Linked DNA regions of Homo sapiens: region 1 is linked to region 2. The links are contacts of gene promoters, found by promoter capture Hi-C in human tissues and cell types (Jung and others, 2019). All regions are on one chromosome and are shown on one strand. Each heading gives the region's core, a stretch centred on a gene start or on the middle of the fragment in contact. The rest is flanking DNA. Distances are from core to core; before and after follow the strand shown. Region 1 overlaps ASH1L (ASH1 like histone lysine methyltransferase). Region 2 holds the start of ASH1L (ASH1 like histone lysine methyltransferase).

Region 1 (7,094 bases), core at 3,857-6,356, 35 kb after region 2:
ATTTTTTTTTTTTTTTTGAGACAGAGTCTCACTCTGTTGCCCAGGCTGGAGTGCAGTGGCACAATCTCGGCTCACTGCAACCTGTGCCTCCTGGGTTCAAGTGATTCTTCTGCCTCAGCCTCCTGAGTAGCTGGGATGACAGGCACCTGCCACCACACCTGGCTAATTTTTGTATTTTTAGTAGAGATGGAGTTTCACCATGTTGGCCAGGCTGGTCTTGAACTCCTGACCTCAGGTGATCCACTCGCCTCAGCCTCCCAAAGTGCTGGGATTTATAGGCATGAGCAACCACGCCCAGCCCAGACCACTATATTAATAACAGTGTATTAGTTAATTTTTATCAGATCCACTGTTTGTTACTTGGATGTGGGATTAGAATGGCAGGTGTTGGGGTGGATAGAGGTCTTCATTTTGTAGAGAATATGTATTTGTAAATTTGTAGGTAGTTTTTAACATATTGTTAGATTATCATACTTTGTTTTTATACAATGTATATGTCCTATTAATATAATTAGTAATTTCCTTTTTAAAAAACATATGGTTAGTAATTTTCTAAAGAGTTTACTTAATGCTGTAATGATTTGTGCAAAAGTATTTAATGCTGTAGGTACAGTGTTACTTTCCTTTGAATTTGGACCAGACTGTCCCACATTGTTCCAGAGATTTGAAAACATAAATCCCAAAATTGCATGTGAGATGAATATTGAGTTTGCCTGTTTGAGTGAAGAGATTCTAGCAATCTTAGGTCTGTGTTTTTCCTTGGAAATGTATTTTAAGTTGAATATATTGTAGTAGAAACCAAAATAAGTTGTGTTACAACATGGCATCCTTGCCCCTGGATGGAAAACCTAGATTGTTTAGATATTTTTCCAAAAGCTGAAAGAATGATATTCTCAATGAACATTGCTTTGAAAGTTCAAAAAACAGCATTCTGGCAGCTGCTGTAGGGACTGTTTTTCAAGCAGTTTACATTCAGCAGATAAAAAGCACTCTGTTGTGAAATATCTTCAGAATTTGGGTTTATCTTGACTAGAAACTCTTAAATTTGGTATGTGGGGTTTGCCAATCATGATTTTCCAGTTTTACTACCTAAATGGATTCTCAAAATATGCCTGTAAGCATACTGTTCGTTTTTCTCCTTGATCATGTTAGGGAAATGTAGTATTTCTCTCTTCTCATATACATTTTTAGGGGGGGAAATAAATGTTTTCAAATCTCTTTTCAGTTTATTGGTACTCTGCTATTTATGTAATAATATGTGTCACTTGGATTAAGTTTTATAATTTTTTTTCATTTTTAAAATGAGAATCATGTTTCTGTCAGACCTTTCTCTGTAATGTTTTGAAAGGGAATTAAGTGCAGATAAAAAATGAATTCTTTGCTTGAACCCGGGAGGCGGAGGTTGCAGTGAGCCGAGATCACGCCACTGCACTCCAGCCTGGGTGACAGGGAGACTCTGTTTCAAAAAAAAAAAGAATTCTTTGGAAAAATGCTGAAATTCTTCATTTATACATATAAATTTTGCAGTTATACATATTAAGACATGGAATTCTTTCATTACAAAAATTGTAATGGGAAAATTTAAAATGTATGCATTTGTGAGTAATGAATATAAAAGCAATTCTTTTTTTTTTTTTCCAAATTGTAAAATGTTGTGGGTTTTTTGTTACATCTGTTTTTTGAGATGGGGGTCTCTCTTTATTGCCCAGACTGGAGTGCAGTGGCACGATTCTAGCTCACTCCAGTGTTGAACACTTGGGCTCAAGTGATCTTCTCATCTCAGCCTCCAGAGTAACTAGGCCTACAGGTGTGTCCCACCACACCCAGCTAATTTTTTAATATTGATTGATTGATTGAGACAGAGTGTCACTCTGTTGGCCAGGCTGGAGTGCCTCTGGAGTAGCTAGGACTACAAGTGTGTCCCACCATACCCAGCTTATTGTTTGATTGCCCGGGCTAGAGTACAGTGCTGTGATCATGGCTCACTGCAGCCTCGACCTCCTAGACTCAGGTGATCCTCCCACCTCAGCCTCCTGGGTAGCTGGGACGATAGGCACGTGCCACCATGCCCAGCTAATTTTTTTGATTTTTTTTTTTCCTTCCCGAGACAGAGTCTTGGTCTGTCACCCAGGCTGGAGTGCAGTGGCACAGTCTTGGCTCACTGCAACCTCCACCTCCTGTGTTCAAACAGTTCTCCTGCCTCAACCTCCTGAGTAGCTGAGATTACAGGAGCGTGCCACCATGCCCAGCTAATTTTTGTATTTTTTTTTTTTTTTAGTAGAGACGGGGTTTCACCATGTTGGCCAGGCTGGTCTCAAACTCCTGACCTCAAGTGATCTGCCTGCCTTGGCCTCCCAAAGTGCTGGGATTACAGGCGTGAGCCACTGAGCCCGGCCTAGAAAGGGGACAATTTGAAGCTCGTAAAATATAACCCACATAAGTCAGGGAATTAATTCTACAAATATTTATTGAACACCTACTATATGCCAGCTAGTGTTCTACGTGCTGGGATATAGCAGTGAACCAAACTGATAAGTCTATTTCCTGGTAGAGTTCAAATTTCAATGGAAAGATGTACACAACAAATATATAGTACACCAGGTGGTAAGAAGAGTATGAGAATAAAATAGGATACTGAATGTGAGTAGAGGGTGGTGGGGGGATAGGTGTTTTTTTTAGGAAATGCTTCTTCTGTAAAATTACGTTTAGACAAAGATACGAAGGAAGTGAAAGAGCAAGATATGCAATTATCTGGGGAAAGGGTGTTCTGTCAAGCGGAATGGTAAGTGCAAAGGTCCCAAGGTAAAGAGTATTTTTGTTGTGTTTGAGAAACAGAAGGGAAACTTCTTTTTTTTTTATTTTTTTTATTTTTTTTTGAGACAGAGTCTTGCTCTGTTACCTAGGCTGGAGTGCAGTGGCGCAATCTCGGCTCACTGCAATCTCCACCAGAAGGGAAACTTTTGTACCTCCTTCTTGGAACTAAGTGAGGAGACTGGTAGGCGATGGAAGAGAGGTAGAGAGGACTTTAGGACAAATTAAATTGGATCTTTAGACCATTTAAAAAATTTTGGCTTCTGCTTTGAGGGAGATAGGAAGCCTACGAAAGGGTTTTGAGCAGAGGAGTGACATGATCTGAATCAGGCTTTGAAAGGATCACCCTGCAACTGAATTGAGAAGACTGGAAGAGATATGAGGGTTGAAGCAAGGAACCAGTTAGAAGCATGTTGCATTTTGCAAGCTATGCATCTGACAAAGGTCTAATGTCAGCATCTGTAAGGAACTTAAGCAAATCTATGAGAAAAAAAATGATTAAAAAGTGGGTAAAGGACATGAACAGACACTTCTCAAAAGAAGACATACATGCAGCCAACAATCATGAGGAAAAGCTCAACATCACTGATCATTCAAGAAATGCAAATCAAAACCACAGTGAGACCATCTCACATCATTCAGAATGGCTATTAAAAAGTCAAAAAAAAAAAAAAAAAGATGCTGGCAAGGTTGCAGAGAGAAAGGAGTGCTTATACACTATTGGTGGGAGTGTAAATTAGTTAAGCCATTGTGGAAGACTGTGGTCATCCCTCAAAGACCTAAAAACAGAAATAACATTTGACTCAGCAGTCCCGTTACTGGGTATATACCCAAAGGAATATAAATCATAAAGACAGATGCATGCGTATCTTCATTGCAGCACTATTCACAATAGCAAAGACATGGGATTAACCTAAATGCCCACCAATGGTAGACTGGATAAAGAAAATGTAGTACATATACATCATGAAATGCTATGGAGCCACAAAAAAAAAATGAGATCATGTACTTGGCAGGATCATGGATGGAGTGGAGGCCATTATCTTTGGCAAACTAGTGCAGGAACAGAAAATCAAATACTGTATGTTCTCACATATAAATGGGAGCTAAATGATGACAACACATGGACACATAGAGGGGAACAACACACACTGGGGCTTATTGGAGGGTGGAGGGTGGGAAGAGGGAGAGAATCAGGAAAAATAACTAATGGGTACTAGGCTTAATACCTGGGTGATGAAATAAACCCCCATGACACAAGTTTACCCACGTAACAAACCTGCACATGTACCCCTGAACTTAGAATAAAAGTTAAATATATTAAAAAATCAATAAATCAATGGACTTTGAGTTAAGCAGATCACCCTCCATAATGTTGGGGAGGAACTTCATCTACTCAACTGAAGGCATTAACAGAACAAAAGATTGACCTCTCCTCAGTAAGAGGCAAGTCTGCCAGCAGAATGAAAACATTGGGTCTTCCTGGGTCTTCAGCCTGCCACTGACCCACCCTGCAGATTTTGGGACTGGCCAGCTTCCATAATCATGTGAGCAATTCCTTTAAATAAACCTCTTTCTTTAAAAAAAAAAAAAGCTATTGCAATAATCCATTCACATATTTATCATCACTTGGATCTAATAGCTGTCAGAGTAATGACAACTGGTTAGATTCTGCATACATTTTGAAGGTAAAGCTGACAAACTTAGCTGACCAAATGGACATGAGGGGTTTGAGAGAAAAAGCAATTAAGGATGGGTAGAGATTTTTGGCCTAAATATTTCTCTTTGGAATTACCATATTTTGAAATGAAACCTGTAGGAAGAATAGATTTGGGGCAGTGGGCAAAGATGAATTGATTTTAAACATGTTAAGTGCCTATCTATTACACAATCCAGTCAGTATGTCAAGTAAGCATTTAGATATGTGAATCTGAAGTTCCAGAAAGAGGTCTCAGCTAGTCTCTATCTGAAGATAGAAATTTGTGAATCATCAATGTTAGATGAAATTTAAAGCCGTAAGACTGGATCTGGTCATTTGGGAACTGAGTGTAGATAGAAAAAGGAAGAGGTCCGGGTACCCTGCGTCACTCCAGTATTTAAAGGTCATGGAGGAAGGAAAGAACCTGCAAAGGAGACAGAGGGTAGTAGCCAGTGAGGAAGAACAATCAAGAGAGGAGTCCCAGAGCTGGGCACGGTGACTCATGCCTGTCATCCCAGCTACTCGGGAGTCTGAGGTCGGAGGATTGCTTGAGGCCAGGACTTGAAGACTAGCCTGGGCAACCTAGTGAGACCCTGTCTCTAAAACAGTGAAAAAAAATTGGACATGGTGGCACATGCCTGTATTTCTAGCTACTTGGAATAGCTACTTGGGGTCTGAGGCAGGAGAATCACTTGAGCCCAGGATTTTGAGGCTGCAGTGAGCTATGATTGTGCCACTGCACTCTGGCCAGGGTGACAGAGAGAGACCTTGACTCAAAAAAAAAAAAAAAAAAAAAAAGGTATCCCGTAAGTCAAGTGAGGTAGCGAGGGAGCTGTTTAGCTGTGCCAAATTCTGTTGATAGGTCAGGTAAGATGAGAGGACTGAGAATTGATCATTCTTCTTAGCAATGTGGAGGTTGTTGGTGACCTTGACTAGCAGTTTCTATGGAGGGGTGGCAGTGAAAGTATAATCAGTATGTTCAAGAGAAAAAGCAAGGATTGGAGGTCAGGGAGAATAGACAATATAGAGAATTCTAACAATTTTGTTGTGAAGAGGAACAGAGAAATGGGAAGATGGTGGAGGATGTGGAGTCAAGAGGAATTTTTTTTTTTCTTTTTTTTTGAGACGGAGTCTCGCTCTGTCACCTAGGCTGGAGTGCAGTGGCACCATCTTGGCTCACTGCAACCTCTGCCTCCCGGGTTCAAGCAATTCTCCTGCCTCAGCCTCCTGAGTAGCTGGGATTACAGGCATGCGCCACCACACCTGGCTAATTTCTTATATTTTTGGTAGAGATGGGGTTTCACCACGTTGGCCAAGCTGGTCTTGAGTATCTGACCTCAAGTGAGGTCTGCCCGCCTTGGCCTCCCAACTGCTGGGATTACAGGCGTGAGCCATCTTGCTCGGCTAAGAGGAATTTTCTTCCATGAGAGATATTATAGTATGTTTTTGTTTTCAGGCTTATTGGCATTATTCAGAGGAAATATGAGAAATGGATGATGTGAGAGAGAAAGGAGATAGTTGCCTAAATGAAGAGGTTGAAAGGAGAGATCGTTTATATATTGTGATAGGAAGGCAGTCAGACTATAGGAACAGACACAGGTAGGAAGGTAGGTAGATATATGGTGGGCACTTGTGGCACTTTTCTGTTTGTTACTGCTTCCTATCTGACTACTGCTGTGATCAGATAGGAAGCAAAATTAGGGACAATGAAGAAAGGGGAGATGGGATGAAATAGTTTTTTAGGAGAGTGGTAGAGGGAATAGATTAGGGAAGTGTATTGGCAGCACCAAGGGCTTACTCGGAGTTAGTGGTCAGGAATATAAAATGAGATCATTGAGTGTTATTGTTTTTCTTAGACTAGCTGTGATGGTACAGAGACAGAAGATGTATAAAATATGATTTGGAAGTATGTTAGTGCTGAAATTAGGATATTTTAGTAAATTTACAGAAAACCACCTATGTGAAATATAAACATATTAAGAAAAAACTTGTGTATAGTTTTCTCATTGTAACACAAGATAAAGTTATGTAAAACAGGAAAAAAGACATTTGCTACATGCCAATCATTGTATTAGAAGTTACAGGAACCTTAAAATTCACTCATTCATTTATTCAGCTATTTATTGGGTACTAAAATTTGTGCTATTCATTGTTTCAGCTGCTGGGGTTACAGTGGTGAGCAAGCCAGAAGAGGTTCCTATCCTCATGAAGCTTATATTTTAATTATACAGTTGGCCTTCCCTATCTGTGATTCCGCACCTGTGGATTCAACCAACTGCGGATGAAAAATATTAGAAAAAATTAAAAATAACAATACAATAATAAAAAATTATACAAAATTTTAAAGTACAGTTTAATAACTATTTATATATCATTTACATTATGTTAGGTATTATAAGTAATCCAGAGATGATTTCAAGTATACAGGAGCATGTGTATAGGCTGTATGCAAATACCATACCATTTTATATAAGTGACTTGAGCATCGTCAGATTTTGGTATCTGAGGGGGTGGGATGGGAGGTGGGAGGACTTAATCTGTTGAGGGGTATAGCTGACAAATACAGAACAAGAAAAAAGTTAAT
Region 2 (6,462 bases), core at 3,700-6,199:
TATTTTTAATGGCTCTTGGCGAGGCACAGTGGCTCATGCCTAAATCCCAGGAACTTGGGAGGCCAAGACGGGTGGATCACCTAAGGCCAGGAGTTCAAGACCAGCCTGGCCAACATGGCGAAACGCTGTCTCTATTAAAAATACAAAAATTAGGCCGGGCGCGGTGGCTCACGCCTGTAATCCCAGCACTTTGGGAGGCCGAGGCGGGCGGATCACGAGGTCAGGAGATCGAGACCACGGTGAAACCCCGTCTCTACTAAAAATACAAAAAAATTAGCCGGGCGCAGTGGCGGGCGCCTGTAGTCCCAGCTACTCGGGAGGCTGAGGCAGGAGAATGGCGTGAACCCGTTAGGCGGAGCTTGCAGTGAGCGGAGATCGCGCCACAGCACTCCCGCCTGGGCGACAGAACGAGACTCCGTCTCAAAAAAAAAAAAAAAAAAAAATTACAAAAATTAGCCAAATTAGACAGGCGTGGTGACACACACCTGTAGTCCTAGCTACTCAGGAGGCTGAGGCGGGAGAATCACTTGAACCCGGGAGGCAGAGGTTGCAGTGAGTTGAGATTGCTCCACTGCTCTGCAACCTGGGTGACAGAGCAAGACTCTGTGGGGAAAAAAAAAAAACCAACTCTTATGATTACATAGCATTTACCATAACTCGTCAAATGTAAAGTCAACCCTGACCATACTTCAGTAAATTTTATCTTAGAAAAAACAAGTTCCTGCCCAACAGTAGTCCCGGCTACCGAGGAGGCTGAGGCAGCGGTAGGATCCCTTGAGCATGGGAGCTAGTCTGCAGCCTAGGCAACATAGTAAGAGCAGGTTAATATTTTAACCTGGCCGGGTGTGGTGGCTCACACCTGTAATCCCAGCACTTTGGGAGGCCGAGACGGGCGGATCACCTGAGGTCGGGAGTTCAAGAGCAGCCTGACAAACATGGAGAAACCCCATCTCTACTAAAAATACAAAATTAGCCAGGCGTGGTGGCACATGCTTGTAATCCTAGCTGCTTGGGAAGCTGAGGCAGGAGAATTGCTTGAACCCGGGAGGCGGAGGTTGCAGTAAGCCGAGATCACGCCATTGCACTCCAGCCTGGGTAACAAGAGTGAAACTCTGTCTCAAGAATAAAAAAAAAAAAATTAACTTTATTTTGTTTTACATTTTAGAGACAGAGTTTCACTCTCTTGCCCAGGCTGGAGTGCAGTGGTGTGTGATCATGGCTCACGGTAGCCTCAAACTCCTGGACATGCCACCATGGCCTGGCTAATTTTTCTTATTTTTTGTAGAGATGGGGGTCTTGCTATGTTAACCAGGCTGGTCTTGAACTCCTGGCCTCAAGTAATCCTCCTGCCTCAGTCGCCCAAAGTGTTGGGATTTATAGGCATGAGCCACTGCGCCCAGCCTGAAACCTCATTTTAAAAGTTTTTATCAGACCAGGACCCCAAGATGGAGTCGGCTGTACCAGTGAAGGAGAAGAAACTCCTGGATGTCAAACTAGCAGAACTGCCAAACTAAATATTAACGTGTGATCTCACACAAGAAGGCACTGTTGGAGCGTTCAGAGAGGTTACTACAGGTATTATGACAAGCACTCCAATTTGAAGAAAGGGAGCTTCGACGGTGGTGCTGTGGTGCTGGCAGCTTACATGCTTTTCCATTATTGTCTTTCTGAAAAGGAACACAAGCATGGGCAGCTACAGAAGTAAAACTGAAGAGGGCCATTGCAGAGAGCTCACTCCTGGATAATCTCCCTAGTTTAATGTCAGCTGATTAGCAACCTTAATTCCCTCTGCATCCTGAATTTTCCCTGGTCATGTAACATATCATATTTACAGGTTTTAGGGATTAAGAAGTGGATATCCTTGGGGAAACCATTATTCTATCTTCATTGGTTCAAATAATTCAGGGTTTGTTCATTCAGTGAGGTCATTTTATTGAGCACTTAATATATTTTAGTCTCTAGTTGGCTCTGGGGCATACATGAAAAAACAGAATCGTATCTCATTTGCTTGTATGTAGCTGATAATTCATTGATCAGTGTAGTTAATGAAACTTATTTTAACACAGAGACCATATGTAAGTAACTCTCCCTATACACTGGTGTGGTGAAATTCCAGTAAAGGCATTTTTTTTTCTTTGAAGCACAGCAATTATGCTGCTGATGAGAAATTTTACTTTGAAGAAAATGTGGTATAGTGAAAAAAGTAAGGTTTTTAAAAGACAGGCAAACTAGAGTCTAAAGATTGTTACTGGACTTCTCTGGGCCTCAGGCTTCTCTTTTGTAAAATGAGGGTAAGATTATCTACCTCAAAGTGTTGTTTATTATAAGGATTAAACAGGAATACGTGTTCCCCTGGCACAGTAGTCCACAAATGCTAATTGTCTTTCTCTTCTGGTATTTTAAGTATCTAACATTCATTTCAATATTTCTTTTCTTTTTCTTTTTTTTTTTTTTTTGAGAAGGAGTTTCACTCTCGTCTCCCAGGCTGGAATGCAAAGGCGTGATCTCGACTCACTGCAACCTCTCCCTCCTGGGTTCAAGCGACTCTCCTGCCTCAGCCTACCAAGTAGGTGGAACTACAGGCGCTCCACCATGCCCACCTGATTTTTTTTGGATTTTTTTTTTCTTTTTAAGACAAAGTCTCGCACTGTTGCCCAGGCTGGAGTGCAGTGGTGCAATCTCCACTCACTGAAATCTCTGCCTCCCGGGTTCAAGCAATTCTCCTGCCTCAGCCTCCCGAGTAGCTGGGATTACAGGCGCCCACCACCACGCCCGGCTAATTTTTTGTATTATTAGTAGAGACGGGGTTTCACTATGTTGGCCAGGCTGGTCTTGAACTTGTGACCTCGTGATCCATGCGCCTTGGCCTCCCAAAGTGCTGGGATTACAGGCGTGAGCTACCACACCCAGCCTCATTTCAATATTTCTGTGACTTGCTTTGCGCTAGCCTGTGATGCTTTATGTAAATTAAGTAGTAGACATAGTCCCTGTTCTCAGATAAAACAAGTTATTGGTAGCATAATACACTTGCACGCATGAAGCAACTAACAAAAGATCGGTAAACAAGTGGGCTCCATGAAAGTGTGGGACTTGGTTAGGAAAATATACAATGAGGTAATTAAGGCTGCTTTCCTCTTTACCTTAAAGAAACGAAACAAGTAAACAACACTTAATCCACGTATCCTAAAGGGGAAATTTGGGACTGTCTACTTGAATTTTGGAGGTTGCAAGGGCTTTTTATTTTTATTTTTTTCCCTCAGATGGAGTTTCGCTCTTGTTGCCCAGGCTGGAGTGCAATGGCACCATCTCGGCTCACTGCAATCTCCGCCTCCCAGGTTCAAGCGATTCTCCTGCCTCAGTCTCCTGAGTAGCTGGGATTACAGGCGTCCACCACCACGCCTGGCTAATTTTTGTATTTTTAGTAGAGACGGGATTTTGCCATGTTGGCCAGGCTGGTCTCGAACTCCTGACCTCAGGTCATCCGCCCACCTTGGCCTCCCAAAGCGCTGGGATTACAAGCGTTAGCCACCGCGCCCGGCCTTGCATGGGCTTTTGAACAGTCATTTCTGAATTACTTCCTGGATCCCCAGGAGTCCACAAATGTGAAGGAAAGGGAAACCCAAGTAGATCCTTCCGGTAATTTATTCTGCTTTACCCTTTAGGTAAAGGTAAAAACTACTAGATCAAGTAAACTTTGGAATTATTTGTGGACTTTAATCGTCCGTATTTCTGCTGCATTCAATTATCAAATATCAGTCAAGTGTTTTGAGAAACAAATATTCAGTAGCCACAGAAACCTAACAGGCCTATGTTTGCTTTGTTTTATTAACTCCTTGGAGGGACAGAACACTACCAATTACACCCACAAACGTTATCGACATCAACAGAACTGTAAATGACAACACGGCAATATTCTGCACTTTCCCTATGCCTAGGAGCTAATTCCACTTTACATATATTATCTTATTATTTCACACATTAACCCTGGAGGCATGTTTGGAGTTGCCTAATTTTTATGTACACTTTTTGATAAGGAACTAACAAAAATAACTTGCTGAAGGAAGAAAAGGGAGACTAAGTCCAGAACTGAATGAAAAGCACATGGTTTCTTCATCCTCCATCACCAGGCTGTCTAACGAGGCTGAAGAAGTACCATCCATGAGTAAGTGCGTCAAGGGCAAACAAACATCATCGCATATGGACAGTGGTGTGAAATTCGAGAAATCCGAGGAGGGTTAACAACAACAAAAAGCACACCACCACGCCGATCTTCCTCGGGTCCCAGGTTGGCAACTCAACGCCCGGGAGGAATCCCCCCGGAGGCGCGCCGGTCCTACTGGCCTCACTCCCTACCTCCTGGAGGTCCGGAGTCCCGCTCCTTTCCCTCAGCGGTACAATACCCGTGTCGGTCCATTCCCTCACCGTGAGTCGAGGACTAGTTCTCCTGACTAGGCGACCGGCACACACCGCCTGCGACCAGCTCCACAGCAGCGGTCCTGCTACTGCGAAGTAGGCTCAGGTCAACCGGCAGGAAACGACTCAACGCGCAGCCGCCGCGGCCTCCAACCACCGGTGGGCAGAGGGGCGCTAGGCAGTCCTCGATCCGCTCGCCGCGATCCGGCGGAGGAGGAGGAGCAGAGGGAGGCGAGCCGCAGCGCTGCGGCGAGGAGCCCAGGGAGGTAGGTTGTCGTGGGGCTCGGTCCGCCATTCTGGCAATTCCAGTCAAACGGCAAGCCCCGACCCGCTCGGCCCGTCCCTTCCTCTCCTGCCCCTGCAGCCGACAGGAATGGAACAGTCCCGCGGGGGGGATTGTGGGAGGCGCACGCGCGAGGGGTGGAGGGTGGTAGGGGGGGCTGGCGGCGGCGGCGGCGGCCGTGGCGGCGGTTGGTGGCCGTGGGGGCGGGGAAGGGGGGGGAGGAGAGAAGAGGAGGTGGAGGAGGAGGAGGAGGAGGCTTGGGCTTGCGCCGTTGAAGGTACGCGTGAGGGCCTGCGCCGGCGCCGGCTTGACAGGGCCTGAGGGGTAGTGAGGGACTGGACGAGGGGGTTCCTGTGGGTGAGCGCGTACGGGCTGGCTGGCGCGCGGGGCGGCCGAAGGTGGTGGTTGGTGGGAGCAGCCAGCGACGAGCCCGTAGACACTCGTACGCGTGCGGGCGGGCGTGCGCGCTACGCGGACGGAGTCGGGCGGAGCGGGGGACGGTGGGAAAGAACGCAAGGAGGAAGGAGTGGAAGGTTGAGGGGGGCGCTAGGCGCCCTTCGCTCCCTCCCTCTGGAGGAGCTGCCGCCGCCACCGCCGCCACTCTGCTGCTGCCGCCGCCGCCGCCGCCGCTCCCGCCGCCATTTTGGGTTCGCTTTGCGGAGGGGAGACGATCCCAGTCTCGGTTGCGGGACCCGCCTCCCCTCAGTTTGCCCCCTTTAGCCTTCCACCTTTCCCTTCTCCTCTCTCGCATTTCCGCCAGTCAGCTTACCCGCTGGCCGCCTCCTGACAAGCGGGAGGGATCCGCCGTGGACCCAGGGAAGCGGAGGAGCCTGGCGGCCACCCCCTCTTCCCCACTTCCCTGCACTCTCATCGCTCTCGGCCTCGGCCTCGGCCTCCGACACGGTGAGTAGAACGATTTGGGCCGGCATTCGGGCCTAAGCACTCTCTCAGCGATTGAATCCTGGGCTTTCTGGGAGCCACTGTCATCTCCCGGACCTGGATCTCTGAGAGAGCAGTGGTGAAGATGGGGGAGGGGAGAGCAGGGAGGGGGATCCTGAGCCTACCGGGAAGTCCCTCCAGGCGGGGTGAAGGGGTGTCCCTGACAGGCAGACTCCCGGAGGGGGCTGGGAAGTAAGCGAGTGGAGGCGGAGTCGGCTGTGCCCCTGACAGGTTAGTTTGTGTTTGTAGGCATGATCGGAGCCTCCCCCATAGTCCAGTTTGTGTGTGTTTAATTAAGGGATAAGAGTGGTCGAGGACACGATCTTGAGAGGGGATTTTACCTGTGTGACAAGGTCTGTGGTGTCCCTGCCGCGTTGAACGGTATGTGGGAACGACAGGATGATCTCAGTGTTGTAAGTTTAATAAATGTCACTGGTTAGTTTGTACATGGAAAGAGATGTTTTTGGTCTAGCAGACAGATGGTCTGTTGGTGTGTAGCGGCTGTGTTGGTGTGTGTATGTGAGGATGGCAAGTGTTTCCGTAAGAGTTTGCCTTTATTTGTGTAAGTGTAATGGAGTTCCCCTTATAAGTTAGCTTATTTCTTGAATAAATGTTGGGAGGTTCCTTGCAGGTTGATATGTGTGTGTATTTTAGGGATTGGGAGCCCCTAGTTACTTGTTGGGAAAGAGCGGCAATGGTAGTGTTCTGTACAGCATGTGTCTGTGAGGTCAGGGAGGGGAGAAACTTGGCATAGCCAGTTGTGGTCTTAAGAATAGTTTGTGCCTTTGGTTAGAGTGAGTTGTGTAAATGTGAAGGGCCAAAATATC

The links. Contacts are between HindIII fragments. The study calls those that stand out against the background at their distance.
Region 1: a contact is called between a fragment that was not itself captured here and the fragment with the promoter of ASH1L in region 2, in 6 of the 25 tissues and cell types used here (H1 embryonic stem cells, IMR-90 fibroblasts, aorta and 3 more).

Annotation. Positions count from the first base shown.
Region 1 is chr1:155,525,746-155,532,839 of GRCh38, reverse strand. The region is part of intron 1 of ASH1L (ASH1 like histone lysine methyltransferase); the gene reads left to right. Among named protein-coding and RNA genes, the nearest start is that of ASH1L-AS1, 33 kb to the left of the region's middle. RefSeq lists an enhancer at 2,161-2,662. The HindIII fragment of the contact is 7,904 bases long and covers 1,155-7,094 here.
Region 2 is chr1:155,561,290-155,567,751 of GRCh38, reverse strand. It overlaps ASH1L (ASH1 like histone lysine methyltransferase), which reads left to right and starts at 4,949. Exons shown (of 28, transcript NM_018489.3): 1 at 4,949-5,599. ASH1L-AS1 (ASH1L antisense RNA 1) reads right to left here and starts at 5,710. Exons shown (of 2, transcript NR_147964.1): 1 at 5,466-5,710; 2 at 3,808-4,502. It also overlaps a transcript of MSTO1 not described here. RefSeq lists silencers at 3,440-3,734, 4,819-4,958, 5,009-5,158 and an enhancer at 4,363-4,930. The HindIII fragment of the contact is 36,648 bases long and covers 1-6,462 here.